Regions from separate parts of the Homo sapiens genome. Here region 1 is linked to region 2. The links are contacts of gene promoters, found by promoter capture Hi-C in blood cells and fetal thymus (Javierre and others, 2016). All regions are on one chromosome and are shown on one strand. The core of a region is centred on a gene start or on the middle of the fragment in contact, and the rest is flanking DNA. Distances in the headings are between cores, read along the strand shown. Region 1 has its middle 20 kb from the start of LINC01698. Region 2 holds the start of LAMB3 (laminin subunit beta 3).

Region 1 (4,753 bases), core at 875-3,374, 260 kb after region 2:
TTCAATGATTTTTGGTAAATTTATAGTTGTGCAACTATCACCATAATCCAGTGTTATAACATTTTTCATAAAACTTTTGACCTATTTTTTCATCTTAAAATTAAACTTATGAGTGAATTGATTGCAAAAATGGCTGTAATTCTTAAACCTATTGTGGTATGAGTTGTTGCTCCTTGCATTGAGAGGTGGATTTGATTTCCCCAGCCCTTGAATCTGGGACTGGCCTTGTGACTTTCTTTAGCCAAAAAAGTGTGGTCCAAGTGACAGTGTGCCAGTTCTAAGCCTTGCATCAAAATGTCTTGCATGTTTCCATTTGCTCTTTCAAACCCTGCTCTCTTCACCATGAGTGTAAATATAGTCTGCTGGAAAATTAAAAAAAAAATCATGTGAGGAGAAGCCCCAATCATTCCAGCTGCTCTATGTTAGGCCATCTTAGATCAACTTCCCCCATCTGCCCTCCGGCTGACCGCAGATGCATGAACACCCCTCATGAAGATTGGCTGAGCCCAATGCAGATCAGCAGAATTGGCCAGCCAACATGTAGACCCACAAAAAAAAAAATAGAAGGTTATTGTTTTAATCTACTAAGCTTTTGGGTGGTTTATAAAATGTCATTATTGAGGCAATAAATAACTGATACAGGATGGCCATAGGGATCAACTTTTTTTAAAGCCATGAAAACATCTACCATTCTGCCTACGTTGCATAGTATGCCCTCACTACATTTAAAAAACATTAAATTTAATAAACATGTATAGAGGCCTTCATATATGAAAAGAACTTTGGAGTTGTGAGGGATGTGGAATTGAAACAGAAATGATATAAACCCTTGAGGAGTCAATTCCAGTGGGAAAAAAATAGATACTTACACAGAGAGCTATAATATAGGACAATCTGTCCATCTATTACAATATTTATGTTGAAGTGGTCCCTCCATTGTCTGCAAATAACCATGTTCTTCTTTTCTTGGTATTTCAGTTTGTTCCAAAATGTGTTCAAGGAATATGGTTTATTGAAAAACTCCCCAAACAGCACATTGACAGAAATTAAGTTTCATTGGTATGTCCAAGTACAGTGTTTGCATTTGTAGGAAATATTCTTTATGGCAGCTTGGCCATGTGAAATATGTTATGAGCCAGGGAAACAGAAAAGCAGACATGAATTTAGAGCCAGGGTTGGGAGGAGAATAAAAAGAGGAGAAAGAGAGGTGGGTGGGAAAGTCTTAATTTCTAAAATAAGCAGAAATTGTAATTTCAAGAATGCCTAAAGAATAGAACACTGCCTTAGCAGCTTGTTTGTGCTCAGCTCCAAAATATTCTAGAGGTTTAGGTGGCTGGGATTGGGCTGTGGAAGAGGAAGAAAGAGTGGGGGTTTTGGCAAACAGGACCTCAGGCAGCAGAAGTCTTGTGATTGGTTGATCTCAAGCATGTTCTCTGAATTCCTTCATCCTCTCCAGTAAGCAGCCCATCTGGGGAGTCTGAGAGCACAATACAGAGCCCTGGTTTGGAAGCCAGGGGCCCTATTTCTAGTCCTAGCTCTGACACTGAAGAACTATTGCTGTGTGACCATGGACAGGTCACTTTTCCTTTCTGAAGGCTGATCTAGGTGATTTCTAAGGGCTCTTCTGATTCAAATAGTCTGTAAGTTCAGGTCCGATTCACCCACCAAGTTAGAGGAGGCAATTAAAATCAGAGTGAACCAAAGTAGATAACAAGGCCTCTGACAACACAGGTGGACCTGTAAAAAATGGAGCTGTTCAGAAAACCAAGACACAGGTTAATGGGTAAGCCCCGCAGATGCGGACCCACCCTCCACTTCTCCACTGAATGTATGGAGTCTAACCATGCCTGTCCCAAGGACTCCAGAGGTCCTGGATGCTCCCTACCTGTGACCTGCCCACTGAGCCTATCGAGTGCATCCTCCCTCTCCTCCTAGAATGAGGATGTCAAAGGCTTTTCTTAAAATGAACTTGAGTTCTAATGAGTGGCTGTTTAAACAAGTCAAATATTCTTAGAGGTATGGTGGGAAGGGTAGGGGTGAGAAGGTGGGTCTTTTTTCCAAGTAGTGGAAATAACAGAAAGACAAAGAGTAAATAAAGAGAGCTCTCTGCAACAAGGAACTCCCTGAAGCTAAATGTAAACCAGCACTCCCAGGCTGACTAGGGTCTCTTTTAAGATGACAACTTAAAAGAACTTTTTAAGATGACAACTTAAAAACTTGATCTCAGGGCAGTTTTTGGGATACCTTTTGGGGAGACACAATCTTTGTCATCACCTAAAAAAACCCCTGGGAGGTGGTGAGGGAACAAGCAAGAAGTGGCAGAAGCCCCTGCCAGGGTCTGAGTCACCAGGAGTTGAGCCCCCATCCCCTGCTGGGAGGAATGAATTCCTGACTGCAAGTCTTCAAATCCTGTCCACCAGCATTTCTCCAAGGAGCCTATGCGAAATAGACAGATGTCCCACTATGAAGTTGTTTGGCTTCCAACCACGGGAAGGGCCTCTGAAGAGGAGGAGGCTCCTGTCTGCTGTTGATTAGGGTAGCAGTCAAGAGAGGCTGTGTGCATCCCCAGTGACCACTGCAAGGCTGTGATGCCAGAGGCCAGGCCCAGGGATCCTTCGTGAAATGTGTTTACATGAGGTTCCATTTTCACCTCAAAAAAGCAAATAGTACAGACTCTCCTCAACTTATGACGGGGTATGTTGAAAATATTATAGTTTGAAAATGCATTTAATACACCTCACCTGCTGAGCATCATCTCTTAGCCTAACGTATCTTAAACATACTTGAACAATGTTCGTGCAACAAACAAGGACATAGCCCGCAGTTGGGCAAAATCATCTAACGCAAAGCCCATTTTATAACGAAGTGTTGAATATCTCATGTAATTTATTGAATACTGAACTGAAAGTGAAAAACAGAATGGTAGGCGGATATTTGAAGTATGGTTTCTACTGAACACATGTTGCTTACGTGTCATTATAAAGTCAAAAAATTGTAAGTCAAACCATTATAAGTTGTGGACCGTCTGTACAAATAGCACTGTTCAGATCATTGTTTGTCTTCCATAGTGGCATGGCCTGGTCTGTGCATTCCTCTTTCTCCTTTTTCTGACACAGGTCACCCTCCAACACCCCCAATCCTCATCATTGGATCAAGGAAGCCCTGCAAGTCACTACAGTTTGCATCTACTTAGGAGCATAAAACATAAAAATAACTTTTTTTTTTTTGGCTCACAGATTTCATGGGCCAGGAATTTGAACAGGGCATGGCAGGGGCTGCTTACCTCTGCTCCACAACATCTGAGCCTCAACTAGGAAGACTCAAAGGCTGTGGGGAATTCAAGGCTGTGGGAGAGTGGGATCATGAAATGTTGATTAATTCACAAGTCAGTCAGGTGATGCTGGCTCTGGGGTAGGACTCAGCTGTGACCTTCAGCACTCTTACACATGGCTGCTCCAGACACCTGAGATTCCTTTCATTGTAGTTGTGGTTTCAGGGCAGTTGAATTTCTTACACCGTGGCTTGGGGTTCAGAACTCCAAGTGCAAATGTTCCAGAGAACAAGATGGAGGCTGCAAGGTCTTTTACCATTTGGCTTTGGAAGTCATGGAGCATTACTTCTGCCACATTCTTTTGATTACAAGTAAGTTAGAAGCTTGCTCAGATACAAGGGGAAATGCTATAGGCCTTCCCTCTCTCTCTGTCTCTTTCTCTTTTTTTTTTTTTTGAGACCAAGTCTCACTCTGTTGCCCAGGCTGGAGTGCAATGGTGTGATCTCAGCTCATTACAACCTCCACCTCCTGGGTTCAAGTGATTCTCCTGCCTCAGTGTCCTGAGTAGATGGGATTACAGGCATGCACCACCAAGCCTGGCTAATGTTTTGTATTTTTAATAGAGATGGGGTTTCACCACGTTGGCCAGGCTGGTCTCGAACCCCTGAATTCATGATCTACCCACCTCAGCCTCCCAAAGTGCTGGGATTACAGGCATGAGCCACTGTGCCCAGCTGGCCTTCCCTCTCTCTAAGGGGATTGTCATATAATTTGCAGACATGTGGTTTTTTTATTTAAGATTTTTTATTTTAATATAGTTTAGTTTTTAGGAAAGTTGTGGATTCACAGCTAAATTGAATGGAAAGTATAGAGATTTCCCCTCTACTCCCTGCCTTCACACATGCATGGCCTCCCCATTATCAACATCCCCCACAGAGGGGCCCATTTGTTACAACTGATAAACCTACACTGACACATCCTTATCACTCAACGTTCAGAGTTTACACTGGGGTTAATTCTTGGTATTGTACAGTCTATGGGTTTGGACAAAAGTATAATGACAGGTATCTACCATTATAGTATCATAAAAGTAGTTGACTGCCCTAAAAGCCCTCTGTGTTCTGCATATTTATATTTTAAAACCCTCACAGTAGCCCACATTGCCTAACCCAAACTAGGCCCCACCATCACTCTCTGTTCATTTCCCTGTAAGGAGCTCCCTCTCCTCCACCTCTCAGATCCTAGGAAATTTTGGAGACGAGCATGGGGAAGTTGCTAAAGTGCTTCTTGGTTCTTTGGCCAAGGTTGAGTTTAAAAGTAGCAGGTCTTCTGAGGGAAGTCCTCCTTTTCTTTGCTCTTCCCCCATCCTTGCCTCTCCACCCCACACTATGACTTGTGATTGCACCCATGCTCTGCTTTGCTTGACTCTTCGGTGGGTTCCCTGGAGTGGTTTCCTACCACCTTGTGTGTCCTTGCAGAATA
Region 2 (4,917 bases), core at 2,418-4,917:
TGTGACCAGTTGTCTGGACAGCTGAGCAGTTGTGTTGTAGTGCAGGGCAACGCAAGCTTTAGTCACATGGCAAATCCCCAGGGCCGTTCCTGGAGTCCACCCTGTCCCACAGACGAGGACTCAGCCATGATTCACTGTATTCAGGTGTGGCCTGAGCTTGAGTCACCTGGTGCCCCTTCCTCCAACACCTGAGAGTCACAGCCTGGACCAGGTTCTCCTATGCCCCCTGAACCTCTTCTCTCTCCTTTTCTTCCTCCTTTTCTCCTTCCTTTGTTCCCTATCCCTTGATCTCTGATTGATCAGATCTTGGCTGATCTCCCTAGCGACTTGGACGGTTTGAGCCTGACAGATGGATAATAGACACAGTAGCTTATAATGCCACCCCCACACCCTGTCAGAGACATTGCCAGGAATGACTGAGAAGCAGGCAAAGAAGGAGACTGCCTCTGTCAATATGGTGACATTTCTGTAATTGGAGATAGGTGCCTCAAAAAAGACCTCCGCACTCTGGCTGATACAGGAATTTCCACTATTAGTAATCCATCCCAGTGCCCAAAGCCTGGATTGTCCCCTCTGAGAATGCAACTACACATCAACGGCACAGGGGATGCATTGAACTGTATCAATTGTTTGTACTTTAGTGTGGATCCATTCATTCCACAAGTATTGAGCACCTACTATGTGCCAGGCACTTGGAAAACAGTAGTGAATAAGATAGAAATCTCTGCCTTCTTGGATATTACATTCTAGTTGGGAAGAGACAGAAAATAAACATAAGCAGATAAATTATATAGTTGGTTAGAAGCTGGTACATGATGCCCCCCTACCAAATAAGTAAATAAATAACTCACCAAAATATAGGGTAGGTGGGGTTAGGAGTGTTAGGATGGGGGACAGGGATGGGGCAGGGAAGTTGGCTGTAATTTTAATAGTGTGTTTAGGATAGGCCTCATTGAGAAGTTAGGATCTGAACAAAGACTTTGAAAGAGGTCAGAGAGTTAGCTTTGTAGATATCCAGGGGCAAGACCGTTCCAGGCAGCAGAAGCAGCTGGAGCCAAAGCCCTAAGCCTGAGCTAAGACAGGGATAGAGGCCATTGTAGTAGAGGTGAAGAGTAATGGGAGGAAGGTGGTGTAGGGTCCCCTAGACTCTGAAAAAGCTCTGGCCTTGGCCCTGAGTGGGATAGGGGCATGTGAAGATTCTGAGCTCGGGGTGCATAACCTGCTGTGTTGGGACTTGACTGTATATCAGTGAGGAGGCTGTTGCAGACGTCCCAGGAAAAGAGGCTCAGGCCAGGAGGGAAGAAGTAGATTCTGATTATTATTGGAAGGCAGAGCTGACCGAATTTGCTGATGGAGTGATGAGGTTTGAAAGATACTGAAGTCTGGGATGACTTCACTAGCCACTTTCCTGAGCACACATTCTAATAAGTCAAGGCTCTAGGGCAGATAAGTGCTCTGTTGTAGGAGGATGGGCGCAGGGAGAGAGGAAAGGTGTGCACACAGGGGAGGCTGAGGGGCTCCAGCCACAGTACCACACCCCTTTAATCTTAGCTGGACCCTGATCTGGCCTCAGGCTCTATTTTAGGCTACTTGACTGAACAAATTGGGTTCTGAAGCTCCAGAGCTTGTGCCTGGAGCCCTGGAGTTCTTGGGGGACTGGATCCCCACTTGGAAATGATCAGTGTCCCTCAGGAGTGAGGCTGGCTGGGCTGCTCTTGGGGGTCTGCATAAACAGCTTCCTGGACTTTGCCGGGAGTGTAGGGGAGAGCCAAGCACAGCAATTGGCATGTCCCTCCTGCGAAGCCAAACCACTCCAGGACCTGCCCAAGCCTGTGAAGTCTGAGACACCGAATGTGTATTTACCTGGGCTCATGGCCTCAGATAAAGGGAGGAGGAGGAGGATTTAAGGGGCCCCAGCTACTCATGGTGAGGCCCACCGCACACCTGCCCTGCCTTTTCTCCTCTGAGGATCTGGGATTGCAACACCTGCTCTCTTCTGCTGAGTTAATTATTAATGAGTTCTTTGTCACATCCTCTGGTGATGGGCAGAGGGCGAAAGTTTCATGAGCGCTCTGAGTTCAGGGAGTTGGGGAAGTGGAGAGAAAGAGACCACCAGGTGGGAGAACTGAAAACACAGGTGTGTCAGAGTCAGAGCTGACCTTTCTCGGTGGGGGACTTGAGGGAGGTCTCTCTGTGTTGAAGGGACACTGCTTCTACTGACCTTACTTGCTGAGTTGAGCTAGATTTCACTGGAATGCTTACAGGGGGCAAGACTCTAACATTTATTGGACTATCAATTATGCATCAACTTACATCAACAACTCACTGCCCACTTGCTAATTACACTATTTCTTCTGCCTACCTGAACTTATGCTTAATTCGAATCTGAGGGTTAGAAATGCCCAATTTAATCCACAAAATTCTACATTTCCCCCTTAAGGGTCTTCAAGCCAATTTCTTGGACATAACCCTCCAATGGTGGAGAACTTTCTGTTTAGGAGACACTAACAAAGTGGAATCGTAGTTAAGAAGCTCCTTTAAATAGTAGCTTTGAGGTCCTAGCATTCCAAAACGGTGCCAGTGCAGGCTCTCCAGGGCCAAGATATGGACTGGCTGACCCTCCAGGTTTCCCTAAAAGCTCTCTGACCCTAACCTGGGGGAAAGAGTGTCCTGTGAGACCAGCCTCTCAATTTGGACCTGCCACTTCCATTTACAGTGGCTGGAAGCCCAGGATCCCTGAGCAAGGAGCCCACAAAAGAAGCTGTGTTCTCAGGCCTGGCAGGAGGCCAGGGAAAGTCTGTTTTGACTTTGTCAGTCAAGCTATGCTTCAGCCTTTCCTTCCACCACTTGTGGTCAGGTCTGTTTTCTGGCCCTCCAGGCGGGCATTCCTGCCTAGGGAGGGAGGGGCTAGGAGACTAACCCTCCCCACAGGTGGGAGGAGTGACTCACAGGCAGCTACCTGTCCCAGGGCTCCCTGCCAACCCTGTGGAGGGAGCTGGAGGCGAGCCATTTAGTTACTCTGCTCATTTCTCTTAAGCTTTCCTTGGATGAGTTGAGCTTTGAATCCTTCCTGATGAACCTTGCCTTTTAAGGATCCTCCAAATGCCCCAAGAAGCTGGGATTTTTCATTTTTTTTTTCACTGGGGAGGGGAATGGTGCTTTCCAGGGTCCTGGATGTTTGAGTCTTCTCACCTTCCAGCCCGGTGATATGTCTGGAGCTTTAACTCTCTATATAAGCCCTAATCTTTGTGTTCTCTGCCTGATCTTCTGTCTGGGGTGGTCCAGGTCACAAGAAGAAGCTGACCCCTGCTGGCTTTGGGAAAATGCTGAGTTCATTGCCTGGCACAAATGCAAGGGCCCTTCCCCACCCTGTGAATTCTGGTCTCTGATGATCACTTACATGTGCCTTGTGCTTTCTGTTTGAGGGGCCCCTTGCAGCCCCCACAGGCAGGTGGGCATTGTGGAGCTCACTACAAGAACTCTGGGACGGACCGACCAACCCACTTGCCCAGTCCCGTCCTGGGAGGTGGGGGTGCAGTGACGACAGATGGGTGTGACGGCTGCCAGATTCCTGAGACCCGCCCTGCGGTGGGGCTACACCCAGCCAGGGAGTCTCCAGAGGTGAGGCTGTTGTTTAAAAACCTGGAGCCGGGAGGGGAGACCCCCACATTCAAGAGGAGCTTTCAGGCGATCTGGAGAAAGAACGGCAGAACACACAGCAAGGTATGTTACCTGTCTTTACCTGCCTGGTGCGGGCCGGATGCGGGAGGAGGACTGTATCTCTGGATGCCTGGGGCCTGGTTTCAGGGCCTGATTTATTCCTCTTCCTGGGAGCTCACTCAGGTGAGCTAGGTTAAAATGTCTGCTACAGTTTTGATTTCTTTTTCACATTTGATAAGCACCTCAGTGGCTTAGAAGAAAGCAGGTTCAGATCCGGGGTTGAGCACAAAAGAGAAGTGAGAAGGGTGGGCTGGCCTGGCTCAGAATGCCTACTTGCAGGGGGATTTTCAGTCAGGGGTGGGAAAGCTGAGAAAGCACTGGATGAAAGTCAGAAGATGGGTCTCTCTTAGGCCATCGTTAGCTGTGGGACCCCAGGCCACATGTTCCCTCCCTGGGCCCATGACTCTTTTAGGAGAGGGATTGGAAGGAATGATTTTGAAGCATTAGGATCTATAATTTAAAGATGCCAGAAATGTCCTCAATTTCCCCCCCCGCCCCTGCCTTGCCAAGCCCCCAGCCCTCCACCCCAGCCAAAAGAGTTTGTGGCTGTCATTGGAACAGAGTGAACATCCAATTCAAGGCAGAAGGGTCACTGCATGAGCAAGGGTGGGGCATGTTTCCACAAGGCAGGCCTGCCTCTGGGACCCCACGGTGGCTTTCGAGCATCCTTCCCCAGCCTCCTTCAGAATCCCTGCTTTGTGGCCTCCCAGCCCCACCCCTCTTGTCGAGCCCCAGCCCATCATTGAAGACATTTTGGGTTGCTTCCCTTTCAGAAGAAACCCTCACTCACTTGTTAAAGACAGCCATACATCTCTCCCTGTTGCATCCCAGAATTGTGGGCACAGAGCCTCAAACTCAAAGTGGCCCTGAATGGTATTGGAGGCCATGCCCGTGACAGGAGAAGGTTTGCCTCCAGGCCGTCAGCCACTCTGACTCATTCACTTTGGGCGGGGCTGGGTTGAGGCTGCTGGTCTAGGCCCTGAGAAAAGCCAGCCCTCTCTCTTGGGGCTGGAACTAGGTCTTGGCCCTTTCTACAGCTTTTCTCCTGCAAAGGGTCCAGCCTTTTCCTGCTCCCCACGTTGTCCTTACGGCTGTGTGGGGTAGGGCAGGGTCCACACTCCTTCCCATCCATTTTAGAGGAGGAAGCTGGAGTCTGGGAAGGGATGGGATTTTCCCAGGGCACCCTGTGAGTCACAT

The links. The method cuts DNA at HindIII sites, captures the fragments that hold promoters and counts their contacts. A CHiCAGO score of 5 or more calls a contact.
Region 1: a contact is called between a fragment that was not itself captured here and the fragment with the promoter of LAMB3 in region 2, in 1 of 17 cell types (monocytes). The highest score is 6.6, in monocytes.

Annotation. Positions count from the first base shown.
Region 1 is chr1:209,389,642-209,394,394 of GRCh38, reverse strand. No RefSeq gene overlaps it. Among named protein-coding and RNA genes, the nearest start is that of LINC01698, 20 kb to the right of the region's middle. The HindIII fragment of the contact is 3,065 bases long and covers 592-3,656 here.
Region 2 is chr1:209,651,175-209,656,091 of GRCh38, reverse strand. LAMB3 (laminin subunit beta 3) reads left to right here and starts at 3,667. Exons shown (of 23, transcript NM_000228.3): 1 at 3,667-3,723. RefSeq lists an enhancer at 2,966-4,165. The HindIII fragment of the contact is 2,819 bases long and covers 3,040-4,917 here.